3 separate regions of the Homo sapiens genome follow, and regions 1 and 2 are each linked to region 3. The links are contacts of gene promoters, found by promoter capture Hi-C in blood cells and fetal thymus (Javierre and others, 2016). All regions are on one chromosome and are shown on one strand. The core of a region is centred on a gene start or on the middle of the fragment in contact, and the rest is flanking DNA. Distances in the headings are between cores, read along the strand shown. Region 1 overlaps LOC105377642 (a long non-coding RNA gene). Region 2 has its middle 21 kb from the start of EPM2AIP1. Region 3 holds the start of UBP1 (upstream binding protein 1).

The links. The method cuts DNA at HindIII sites, captures the fragments that hold promoters and counts their contacts. A CHiCAGO score of 5 or more calls a contact.
Region 1: a fragment that was not itself captured here is called in contact with the fragment with the promoter of UBP1 in region 3 in 1 of 17 cell types (M2 macrophages); the score reaches 6.1 in M2 macrophages.
Region 2: a contact is called between a fragment that was not itself captured here and the fragment with the promoter of UBP1 in region 3, in 1 of 17 cell types (naive B cells). The highest score is 6.4, in naive B cells.

What each region holds. Positions count from the first base shown.
Region 1 is chr3:37,180,562-37,184,612 of GRCh38, forward strand. The region is part of intron 1 of LOC105377642 (a long non-coding RNA gene); the gene reads left to right. Among named protein-coding and RNA genes, the nearest start is that of LRRFIP2, 8.0 kb to the left of the region's middle. The HindIII fragment of the contact is 1,587 bases long and covers 805-2,391 here.
Region 2 is chr3:36,969,475-36,973,964 of GRCh38, forward strand. No RefSeq gene overlaps it. Among named protein-coding and RNA genes, the nearest start is that of EPM2AIP1, 21 kb to the right of the region's middle. RefSeq lists enhancers at 275-324, 415-474. The HindIII fragment of the contact is 2,991 bases long and covers 668-3,658 here.
Region 3 is chr3:33,438,604-33,442,709 of GRCh38, forward strand. UBP1 (upstream binding protein 1) reads right to left here and starts at 1,802. Exons shown (of 16, transcript NM_014517.5): 1 at 1,133-1,802. The coding sequence starts at 1,245. RefSeq lists silencers at 807-1,041, 961-1,010, 1,241-1,560, 1,611-1,720, 1,781-1,940 and 1 more and enhancers at 1,260-1,759, 2,091-2,280, 2,491-2,780. The HindIII fragment of the contact is 4,671 bases long and covers 1-3,735 here.

The DNA of each region.
Region 1 (4,051 bases), core at 348-2,847, 3.7 Mb after region 3:
AAAGCAAGAAAGCACAAATAGACCTCATGATAGAAGCAACAGAGTCCCAGGGACTGAAATGAGAGAATGTGAGATGAGTCTGGAGAGTTAAGGGTCCACCATTCAGGGTCTTAGAGGCTGTGGTAAAGATTCTAATCTTTGTTCCGAAATCTGCAAACCAATCGAGTTTTTAGTGAGAGCAACATGATCAGATTTGTATTTTCAAAAGACCACTCTGACTTCAATGTTAAGAATTCATTCATGCATAGTGTCATGCACCTGTGGTCCCAGCTACTCGGGAGGCTGAGGCACAAGAATCGCTTGAACCGGGGAGGCGTAGGCTGCAGTGAGTCGAGATCATGGCACTGCACTCCAGCCTGGGCCACAGAGTAAGACTTTGCTTCAAAAAAGAAAAATTTTTTAAAAAGAATTCATTTTTGGCCAGGTGTGGTAGCTCACAACTGTAAGCCCAGCACTTTGGGAGGCCAAGGTGAGAGGATTGCTTGCGCCCAGGAGTTTGAGACCAGCCTAAGCAATATAGTGGGACCCCATCTCTACAAAATATAAAAAAATGAAAACATTAGCCAAGTGTGGTGGTGCGCACCTGTAGTCTCAGCTACTCATTCTTTAAATAAATGCATCCTGAAGGCCTGCTATAGACCAAATCCTACTCTGCACACAGAGCACACGGCAGTGGACAACAGACAAATTCCCTATCTGTGAGGATCTTACATACAATATACAAATCATAAATAAGATAATAGTGCTGTAAGAATATTGGAACAGGGTGAGAATGAAAGGGTAGGGTGGAGTTGCTATTTTATAAGCTTGAATCCTATGAAATTACTGATTTTTAAAAATAATTTTTGACCTGAGAATGACATTACACCTTAGGTTTGAATGGTTCAATCCAGTTGTGTGACATTAGGGTCATATGGTTCAACTTAATACTTGGAAGAGTCAGAACTAATGAGGTGATCGAAAGAAAGAGAAGCAAGCCATGTAAATACCTGGGAGAAGAGCATTTGAAGCAAAGGAACAGCAAGTGCAAAGGCCCTAAAACAAAAATGTGCCTGCCATGTTTAAGGAGCAGTAACAAGGCTGAAGAGTAAAGGACAAGTGGGAAGAATGGTAACAGAGGCCAGATCATACTGGTGACCATGGTAACAAATTGGCTTTTCTCCTTTTTTTTTTCCCCCTTAAGACAGGGTCTCACTTTGTCACTCAGGCTGGAGTGCAATGGCGTGCTCATAGCTCACTGCAGTCCTGAACTTCTGGGCTCAAGTGATCTTCCTGCCTTAGCTTCCTTAGTAACTGGGACTACAGGCATCCAGCACCACGCCCAGCTAAGTTTTTTTTTTTAAGAGATGGTATTTCATTATGTTGCCCAGGCTGGTCTTAAACTCCCGCCCGCAAGTGATCCTCCCACCTCAGCCTCCTAAAGTCTTCCAAAATGCTGGGATTACAGACGTGAGCTATCACGCCCAGCCTGGTTTTTCCTCTTTGAGTAAGCTAAGCCGTGGGAGGGTTTTGAGCAGAGGAACTACACATCTGCCATTATTTAAAGGAGTATTCTGTTAATGGTAGAATATAAGTGGTGGATGCAGAAGTGATTGCTGTAAAATTCTTTCAACTTTGCTGTGTGTTTGAAATTTTTCCTAATAAAATAATAGTTTAAACTGGTTATTGTGAATAGACTTTAGGGGAGCAAAGGTGAGAGCAGGAAGACCAGTTAGGCTATAACAATAATTCAGGTAGCAGTGGAAGTGGTAGGAAGTGGTTGGGAGCAGATGTGGTGTTTGAATTACAAGTCAGTAATTCAGAGGAAATACCAGGTAGGAAATACAAATGTATGAATCCACCTAAAGATTAGGAAAACAAGGACAAATGTCTTGAGAATTAAAAGAAAATGCTCAGAAGTGTACCCTAAAGCCTCTTACTCATGCTTTTGTTCTAGGCTGGTTTTGGTTGTAGATAGTTATCAGTTATTATATACTGCCATTCAGATTATTTATATGTATTACTGTCCACAACTCACTTGTGTTCTAAAGGGTTTTTTTTAATAATGTTCTTGTCTTCCCAAGCAGATTACATGCTTTTTGAGAAAAGATCTATTTTTTTGTATACACCCCGCAATGCCATATTCCTAGAAGGCATTTTCAATGTTCACAGAATAAAAATATTTGAATACAGAGCTTTTCATGTCTTTTGTTTTTATAAAACATCAATTTTCTTATAAATGTTTAATTTAGACACTTCTGAAAATGAAGGTAGAGTTAGAATTTTCAATCTGTTGCAACTTATGCCCATTTCAGGTCAGACAAATAAAGAGAGAGCCTTCTGGGGGGTAAAAAAAAAAAAAAAAAAAGGCCCAGGTTTGTGCCTGTAGTAGTAATGTCAGCTACCTCAGGAAGCTTGAGCCCAGGAGTCCAAGGCTTATATGGCACCACAATTGTGCCTGTGAATAGCCACTGCACTCCAGCCTGGGCAACACAGCAAGATCCTGTTTCTTTTAAAAACAAAACAAAACAAAAAAAACCCCAATCAGCTTTTCTCCATATTGGCTTATACTCAGACTTCATCATGTGGCAACAAGACAGTTCTCAAAAACTTTAGTTCTATATTCACTCCAGTCCAAGTCCAGCAAGAGATCCCTTCCAGTAGCTCCTAGATTCACTGAACCAATTACCTTGCTACAGTAATTTGTTAAAGGATAGAGAGTTACCTTCCCATCCTTTAACAAATTACTGTAGCAAGGAAAACTCTTGTGCTATGATTAGCCAAATTTGAGTCATATGCTTTACCTCTGGTCCACCCAAAGATCATGGACTATAGGAGAGGAGTGGTTCCCGGAAGAACAAAATGGAGTACTGTCACCAAAATATAGAAATGGATACTGATGGTGAAAACACAATGCTTACTACACCAACTAACTCAAAGGCCTATGCATTGTTTCTTCCTTAAGCTTTTGAAAGAAGTTAGTCACTGCCATGGCACTCACTTTGAATCTCTTCCAATTCCACACACAATACTGCATTTTTTCCCCTGAATCATCAGGCAGTCATATATTCAGTTGCCATTGAAAAGTAAATGCATGATTATGAAAGTTAACCAGCTGGAAGGGTCAGTATTTCAGTACATCACTTTTCAGGACACTCCCAACTGGTATTGCAGGTAGTTTCTTGTCCTTAAAATTCTTTCCTGTTGTCAAGCTACCTGAAACGTATTTGTCCTCGATACCCTAGGGGCAGGGTGGCTGATAACTAAGGTGCCTGGGAAACACTTCAGAAGCAAGTGACAATGAATTGGCTTAAGAAGCCAATTCATCTTTTAGATGGATATTTATACTGTAGAATCTTGAAAGGAAAATTTATCTACAGATATGTCTGTTTTCAGTTTCTTTTCCTTTTTGCACTAACAAGTTATTTTCCCCACATGACGTTTAATCTACCTTACAAAACATTTTTAACATTTTAGTTCAAAATTTGCTTCAGAAAATGGATGACTTTGGTGTGAAACGATTGTTGACTCTATTATTCTAGAATTTGGGATGGCGCCTCTAGTTTGCTGCTTCCTTGGACACCAAACATAACATTCTCTGTTCTAGGACGTGCTTCAAGTCGGTCATGAGACTGGCAGAAAATCAAACCAAACTAAATGAATGGTTGTTGAAGTTAATCTCCCATCCTGGAGCTGTGCATGCCATGGAGTAGCCAGCTTTTAACAGGCACAATCCTGATCAAAATCACTGCTCTGTGGTCCTGCTCATCAGAATATTATGGAAACTAGATTTAGGCCTGGTTTCCTTAAAAATAGATGTGATAATGAAATAATCATGTATTATAGCCATTACAATTTCTATTGTAGGAGAAAGTGGATAATGTTTTAACGTAAAACAGTAGGTTACTAAACAATATGTTCTAGATGAACATTTAACATTTTTGTTTTAATTAGCCAGGCATGTGTGATGACCTACGCCTGTAGTCCTAGCTACTCAGGAGGCTGAGACGGCAGGATTTGCTTGAGCCCAGGATTTCAAGGTTACAGTGAGCTTTGATCACATCACTGCACT
Region 2 (4,490 bases), core at 913-3,412, 3.5 Mb after region 3:
GCAACGTAGTGAGACCTCATCGCTACAAAAAAACAGAAAAATTAGCTGGGTGTGGTGGTGTATGCCTGTATTCCCAGCTACTTCAGAGGCTGAGGCAGGAGAATCAGTTGAGCCCAGAAGGTGGAAGCTACAGTGAGCCAACAGAGTGAGACCATCTCAAAAAAAATTTAAAAAAATGAAGAAGGAAGGAAGGAAGAGAGGGAGGGAGGGAGCGTGGGCGGGGGGGGGGGGGTGGAGGAGGAGGAGAGAAGGAGTGGGAGGAGTGGAGAAGGAGGGGGAGGAGGAGAAGGATAAAAGGTTACAAGTGGTTGTTACTAGGAATGGGGGAGAAGAGAAGTGGGTAATGGCACTGAAGCTTTTTATTATGTCTTTCAGCATTCTCTGATTGTTCTTAAACCATCAACAGATCTCAGTATGTAGACTAAAAGGGAATATTTGGTGAAGAGATCTTCTTTCACTATTGTACACTTGCTATGGACATGTCCATGCCTGCTGCCTGGCAGGCACCATTCATTAAGTAGGCCCCTGTTGCCAAGGAAACCAGCTCTTCACTGATACCAAAGATAATGCAGAGGCCTGCCGCTCACCAAGCAACCTTCCTCATGAGCTATGCCCCCACCTTCCTGAACTGTCTCTTGCTCCTGTTTGATACTGTCATGCTGCACGAAGCTTACACTTGCTATCTCTCACTTCCCTCTTAGTCATCTGTGATGCTGGCTAAGGGAGCTAGGCCAGTCAGCAGTGACCTGTTGCCCTTGGTTTATTATAAGCAAACTGTTCACAAGAAATGAACTTCTGTTGTTTTATAAATGATATGCATCACAGAACACAGAATAATATCAAAACCACATTAGTTTTTTCATACTTGCTTCATTGACCCCAGGGGAAGAGGGGAGAGCAGGGAGAGGACTTTCTCTTTTTTTAAATACTAATTATATTGAGGTATAAAGAACATATAGTAAGTTCACAGACCTTAAGTATACAGTTTGATGAGTTTTGGCAAATATGTATACCTGTGGAACCAACACCTCAGTCAAGATATAAATACTTACATCAGCCGGGCGCAGTGGCTCATGCCCGTAATCCTAGCACTTTGGGAGGCCAAGGCAGGTGGATCATGAGGTCAGGAGATCGAGACCATCCTGGCTGTCCACTAAAAATACAAAAAATTAGCCAGGCATGGTGGCACATGCCTGTTGTCCCAGCTACTCAGGAGGTTGAGGCAGGAAAATCGCTTGAACCCGGGAGGCAGAGGTTGCATTGAGCCGAGATAGCACCACTGCACTCCAGCCTGGGCAACAGAGAGAGACTCCGTCTCAAAAAAACAAAAAACAACAAAAAAAACCATACATCGACCCAGAAAGTTCCTTCTGTCAGTAGCAGTTCACCCCCCCATGCCCCCAACCCTTGGCCTCCCTGCCTTCCCATCTCCACTCCCAACCCTCACTGCTCTGATTCTATCACCATTGTTTTGATTCTTCTGCTGTTGATCTTCATAAAACCAGTATATTTCCTTTTGTGTCTGGTTTATTTTCCTCAGAATAATGTTTTTAACATTTATCCATATTGTTATGTGTATCAGTCGTTTCTTCCAGATTAGTACTCTATTGTATGGATAGAGCCTATTTTGTTTACCCATTTCCTGTTGACAGACATTTGGTTTGTTCCCAGTTTTGGATTATAATGAATAAAGCTGCTATGAACATTCTTGAACGATGAACATTTTTGTGGACATATGTTTTGATTTTTTTGTGTAAATACCTAGGAGTGAAATTATTGAGGTATGGTATAGGTTTATGCTTAATTTTATAGAGTACTTAAACTTGATTCTTTTATTTAAAATTGTGATAAAATACACATAACATAAAATGAACCGTCTTAACTGTTTTTAACTGTACAGTGCAGTGGTACGAAGCACATTCACATTGTTGCACAACCATCACCACCATCCATCTGCAGAATTATTTTTATCTTGCAAAACTGGAACTCTGAACCAGGTGCGGTGGCTCACGACTGTAATCTCAGCACTTTGAGAGGCCGAAGCAGGAGGATCGCTTCAGCCCAGGAGTTTGAGACCAGCTGGGGCAATATAGTGAGACACCGTCTCTATAAAAACAAAATAAAAATAGACCAGGCGCGATGGCTCATGCCTGTAATCCCAGCACTTTGGGAGGCCATGGTGGGCAGATTGCCTGAGCTCAGGAGTTCAAGACCAGCCTGCCCAACATGGTGAAACCCCATCTGTACTAAAAATACAAAAAATTACCTGGGCATGGTGGCGCGCACCTGTAGTCCCGGTTACTCTGGAGGCTGCAGCAGGAGAATCGTTTGAACCTGGGAGGCGGAGGTTGCAGTGAGCCAAGATCGTGCCACTGCACTACAGCCTGGGCAACAGAGTGAGACTCTATCTCAGAAAAATAAAATAGCTGGGCGCGGTGGCTCATGCCTGTAATCCCAGCACTTTGGGAGGCTGAGGCGGGCGGATCACGAGGTCAGGAGATTGAGACCATCCTGGCTAACACGTGAAACCCCGTCTCTACTAAAAATACAAAAAAATTAGCTGGGAGTAGTGGCGGGCGCCTGTAGTCCCAGCTACTCAGGAGGCTGAGGCAGGTGAATGGCATGAACCCGTGAGGTGGAGCTTGCAGTGAGCCGAGATCATGCCACTGCACTCCAGCCTGGGCGACAGAGCGAGACTCCATCTCAAAATAAATAAATAAATAAATGAAATGAAATAAAATAAAATAAAATAAAAATAGCCAAGTATAGTGATACACATCTGTAGTCCCAGCTACTCAGGAAGCTGAGGTGGGAGGGTCACTTGAGCCCAGGAGTTCAAGGCTGCAGTGAGCTTTGAGCGTGCCATTGTACTCTCCCTGGGTGACAAAGCAAGGCCCTATCTAAAACAAACAAACAAGCAAACAAAAAACCCCAAAACTGGAACTCTGTATCTATTAAACAGTAATCTCTCATTGAGTGGTGTTAAGAGTAAAATTTTTTTTAACAAAAGAAAAAAGTAAAAAGTAAATTTTGAAAAAAGAATTAAAAACAAAAAATCTCCATTACCCCCTCCCCCAGCCCCTGGCAACCACCATTCTACTTTCTGTCTTTCTGAATTTGACTACTGCACATAACCTTATATAGGTGGAATCAAACAGTATTTGTCTTTTTGTGACTGACTTATTTCACTTAGGATAGTGCCCTCAGCTTTTAAAAGGAAAGACATTTTGATATATGCTACAACATAATATTCCATTGTATGTACATACCAAATTTTATTAACGATTTCATCTGTCAATGAACATTTGGGTTGCTTCCACCTTTTGTCTATTGTGAATAATGCTGCCGCGAACATGTTTAAGTCCTTGCTTTCACTTTTTTGTGTATACACCCAGAAGTTGAAATGCTGGATTATATGTAATTCTATTTTTAATATGAGTGACTGCCATACTGTTTTCTATAGTGGCTGTACCGTTTTACGTTCCCACTAAGAGAACATGAGTGTTCCAGTTTCACCATATCCTCACCAACACTTATTTTCTGTTTTGTTGGTGGTAGCCATCCTACTGGATGTAAACTTTATTCATTTTTCGAACCTTTTTAATATGGAATTTTCAAACACACACAAAAGATGAGAGATCTCCAGGTACCCACCACAAGCTTTAATAATGATTAACATTTGGTAGCAGGTGGACAAAGATATACCTTCTCTATAGCAGCTATAAGATCAGGGACAAACAAAGATCTATTTGGAACTCCAACTAAGAATGGTGTTTTGTAGGCTGCCTGATGAATAAGGTTAGATAACTAATGGCCAGTCTTTCAGCCTGTGCTCAAGGGATAGGATAACAATAAAGCATAGTTGGTGAAGGAGCAGCAGATAAAGGTCACAATAGATAGGCCATAAGAGAACCCTCACTATCACTTACCATTCAGACCATTCGCTTCATATTCTAACAAGTTATTTTCCTTTCATAAAAGGAAGCTGAAGCTTTTATTTGTGTTTGTGGTGCATGTGATCCATGAGAGGGGACTCAACCAGGTGCTATGTGTGAGTAGTACTTAATCCGACAGTATTAGTGGGCTGGTGGGCTTTCCTGGTTACATGGGAACCCTAGAAACCCAAGCCAAGCACAAAAGCCAAGACTGAATTCTCCAGTAAGTCACCTGGTAGCCTTGACATGCTCATGCTTAAAAAAGAGCCAGTGACCTATTAATAGGAAGCTCCTGAAATGAGTCCTCTGAACATCTGCAAGTATGGTCAGCTACACCTGAGCTGAGACTTGCCTGTTTCCCTGCCAGGAAATCATGGGCTCAGAAATGGCAGGTACCATGTGTATTAACTATATTTCCTTACTTTCTGTCTTCTTGATGTTCTAGCATCAGGTGCCTCTTTGACCTAAGAGACTTCCCCTCCTAGGACTAGCTAATTCCTAGAAATATCAAACCACTCCCCTGTAAGCATGCCATTCCTATGCAAACCAACCAAT
Region 3 (4,106 bases), core at 552-3,051:
AATCAGAGCCAGACGCTGGGGAACTCCAGGTTTAATATGCCTTCCACTACTCACTTCCACACTCCAAGAAATGTCTCCAACCTTTCTGAGAGTTCTTTATGGCTCAGAATTTCTCCTTAAGATTTAAAGACCCAATTACTTCAAGGAGCAGCCACCAAGATTCCAGGCCAGCTTTAACCCAGAAGTCCTCCTCTAGAGCTGCAGTAAGATGTATGAATGCTACTGGGAAACTGTAGAGCACTTCCAAAACATCAGACATTTTCTAAAGAACAGAAAGCTACACTTAATTCACATTATTGAAAAGCTGCCAAACCACTGATTTTTAGACTTTATTAGTCAAGTCAACGCTATGGTAAACTATATTTCAATAAAGCCACTAAAAAAATACAGAGTTTCCAAATTCCTAACAGTTAAAAAGGATAAAGGGCGGAGACTAAGCTCAGATCTGTTTCAATCTCTCCATATTAAAATGAATGACTGCTGGTACAGACAGCAGAGACTAAACAATTATTTGTGGTGCAATCACTGCATCTTAAAACCCTCAAGAGGAAACAGCCTGAGAGGGTAGTCTCCAAAATGAGAAACTTCACTTTGAGACAATCAAAAGAACAAAACGAAGTCACAGTGCTACTCCCACCGCTGCTCTTTCAATTATAATTTACTAACATCAAGTGATTAAAATCTGCAGCCAGAAAAGATCATAATGTAGGACAACAAAGTAGGAACTGATCCCAAAACGCTAGACAGTATTCTCCCAATATAAGTGCTGCCTTTTCGTACAGTGTATTCTAGCTCCAATGGGACTTGTAAATCACTTATAAGGAAAAGAAGCCCCTTCCCCCACCAACCCAAGCCATCCTAATAGCTGGGCGTGTTTTACAGCAAATATGAAGCACTCAGGAGCGGTCCGAGGCCGACGCTTGCGGGGCCATCCTCCCCCACCCGCCCGTCACCAGGGCGAGCAGAGGCCTTTGGGGTTCCATGGCCCCCGACCGCCACGCGGCAGGACTCCGACCCCGCAGCCCAGGAGGCCCGCGCACCTCTGGGAGCAGCCGCATCTGGCAGAGACTCAGGGCTGCGCAGGCCTTCCCCAAGGAGACAGAGGCTTCTCCCCGCCCAGGGAGCCCAGTACCTCATGCTGTAAGCGCCGGCGCCCAGTTCCTGCCCGATGCCCGAGAGGCTGGCGTCGAAGTCGTGCACCAGCCCGGACTCGATCACCTCGTCCATCTTGAGCACCCAGGCCATCTTCCGGCCTCGCCGTCGCCCCGCACACCGCGGCCTCCGCGTCCAGGGCGAAGGAGCCGGAGCTCCGCTGGCGCGTCCTGGGGGAGGGCGCGGGTGAAGCCTCCGGAGGGGCGGCGAGTGGTCACCAGCGGCGGCCGGGACGAGAGCTGCGGGGGCCCCACTGGCAGGGCACGACGAGCCCAGCGAGCAATTGCAGCGGGAGCGGCCGGGCCGCCGGCAGCGCCACCCTCCCGCGGACACCGGCCCTGCGCCTCATGCCGGCGCCGCCGCCCAGCCCCCGCGCCGCTAGCGCTGCAGCCGCCGCCGACCGCCCCGCCCGGGGCCCCCCGGTCGCATCCTCCTCCGGGACCGCTGGGAGGCTGGACCTCGGGCCGCTCCGAGGACCACACGGGGGCAAGCCCTCCGCCCGCCCGTCACCCGCCCCCAAGCCTTGACTCCTTGCCCCCGGCCCGCCCAGGCTCTAGCGCCACACCGCCCCGGCCAACCCCGCCGACGCCGCTCTGCCGGCCGGACGCTGGCTTCAACGCGACTCCGACTTAGGTTCACGCGCCGCTTCCGCCTCCCCCGGCCCCGCCCCGACCCCGCCCCGGCGTTCGCCCCACGCCTCGGCCCTCCCCGTACAGCCCCGCGCTTAGGGCCACTCCCCGCGCCTCGCGGCCCAGGAACTGTCCAGAGAGTGCAATGCGGCCCCGCCCACGCGGCTGTTCCCAGCCGGGGTGGCCTCGCTGCGTCCCCGCACAGCAGCCCAGGAAGAGGCGGTGCCAAAAGGGCTGCCAGTTTCCGCCCCTTCTAGCGAGCGAGATGATTGACAGGCCAACTGAGCAATACCTGCAAGGGCTTGGACGAAGCTCCCGTGAGTCTCTGTGTCCCCCGACTAAACAACCAATCAAAATGTTCTTCACCTTGGGCGGGCTCGAAGACGGAATTTGTTGCCAAAAGAAAGAGTTCATTGGACTGCATGGTAGAAAGCGACCCAAAACGCCACTTCCGGAGGTGATTTGCTCCTCTGTGGTATTTCCCGGTCGTCTCTGCTTTATGCCCTCTCTACCGAGGGAGTGAGCGGTTTGCACCCCATCTGGTGACAGAAAAGCCAGTTGTGCAGAAAACCTTGATTGGCGTGAGAATAAGCCAATCAACGCTCCTGAGAAAGAGCTCTGGAAAGACTTCCCCTATTGGTTGCATTGCCGAGAGCAGCTTGGCTATCCTGAGTTGAACTAGCTGTTGGTCATCCTAAGGGCAGGCGGTCTCCTGAAGTTGGACCGAACCATTAGGACGTGCCACAGTAACAGCTACGCTGCTCAGAAGGCCCGAAGGGTCTTCCTCAGCGACCTAGCGTGGGCACGCGCCACTGCGGCCAAAAGACAGAAATCTTTTTACCGGAAGAGATGAAATAGAAAGCAGGAGCCAGAGGCTGACTTACAGAGCCAGTGTGCGGATCAGAGTTCCTTAGGAGCGGCTGCTGGCGCTTGACGGGCGGAATCCTTGCTGAAGAGAACGTCAAGGCCCGGGCTTCGCCCTGCATCGAACTTACTGCCTAAGAATAAGACCCAAATGCTGAGCGCCCCGCCCCAACTTGCCAGTTTAAGTGCAAAAATACATAGATTAAAATGTCAGCCTAATAAAGCAGTGGCACTGAGCCAGAAAAAAATAGTCTCAACGCCTGTGTGATTTAGATACTAACTTACAGGCTCACGCCTGTAATCCCAGCACTTCGGGAGGCCGAGGCGGGTGAATTAGTTGAGGTCAGGAGACCATCCCGGCCAACATGGTGAAACCCCGTCTCTACCAAAAATAACAAAAATTAGCTGGATGTGGTGGCGCGCCCATGTAATCCCAGCTACTCAGGAGGCTGAGGCGGGAGTAAGGCTTGAACCCGGGAGAAGACAGAGCAACACTCGGTCTCCAAAAAAAAAAACCACAAATTAACTTGGAGAATGTTTTTCTCTTTACACAACATTTTTGCAAACATTTCATTTGATAAAGCCATACTTTAGAGATGAGGTAATTCAGGTGAAAATGTGTAAAGATTACACAGTGCAAGGTCACACAGTAAGCAGGTAAACCGGGGCTATTTGACTAATCCAGATTTCTCTGATTCCAGGCGAAAACATTAGATTGGCCATCAGTTCAGGAAGCTCCATTCCACTATTACAAATAAATCTGCACAAACAATTGGATAGTCAAGGGAAACATTGGTCTCATTGGGGGTCTCAGATATGTCTTCATTCCATGATCTCACCTCACTTGCATAACCTAGTCTATAACCAGATTAGCCAGGCCTACTATTAGTTGTTGGAAAATTTGGAGAAATGGAATTGGGGGAAGATAATTCTCTGGTTTTTGGAGAGAGTGTAAAAGTACAAGCTACCATCAATTTTTCAATCAGGCTGTGCCCTAAGGAAGTACTGGGTCAAATATTTAGAAATTGAGCCTCAGGCTGGGCAGTGTCTCAGGCCTATGATCCCAGCGCTTTGGGAGACCAAGACTTAAAGCTTGGGAGGATGGCTTAAGGCCAGCAATTGGGAGACTAGCCTGGGCAACATGGCAAGATCCCGCTTCTACAAGAAAAAAAAAATTAGTTGAGCATGATGGCACGCTCCTGTAGTCCTAGCTACTTGAGAGAGACTGAGGCAGGAGGATCACTTGAGCCTGGGAGTTTGAGGCTACAGTAAGCTATGATTGTGCCACTGCACCCTAGCCCGGATGACAAGATGAGACCCTGTCCTTAGAAAAACAAACAACAACAACGAAAAACAAAAAACAAAAAAAAAATTAGAGTTCTGGAGGATAGAAATAAAAGTGTTGGCTGGTCATGGTTGCTCACAACTGTAATCCCAACATTTTGGGAGACCAAGAGGGGA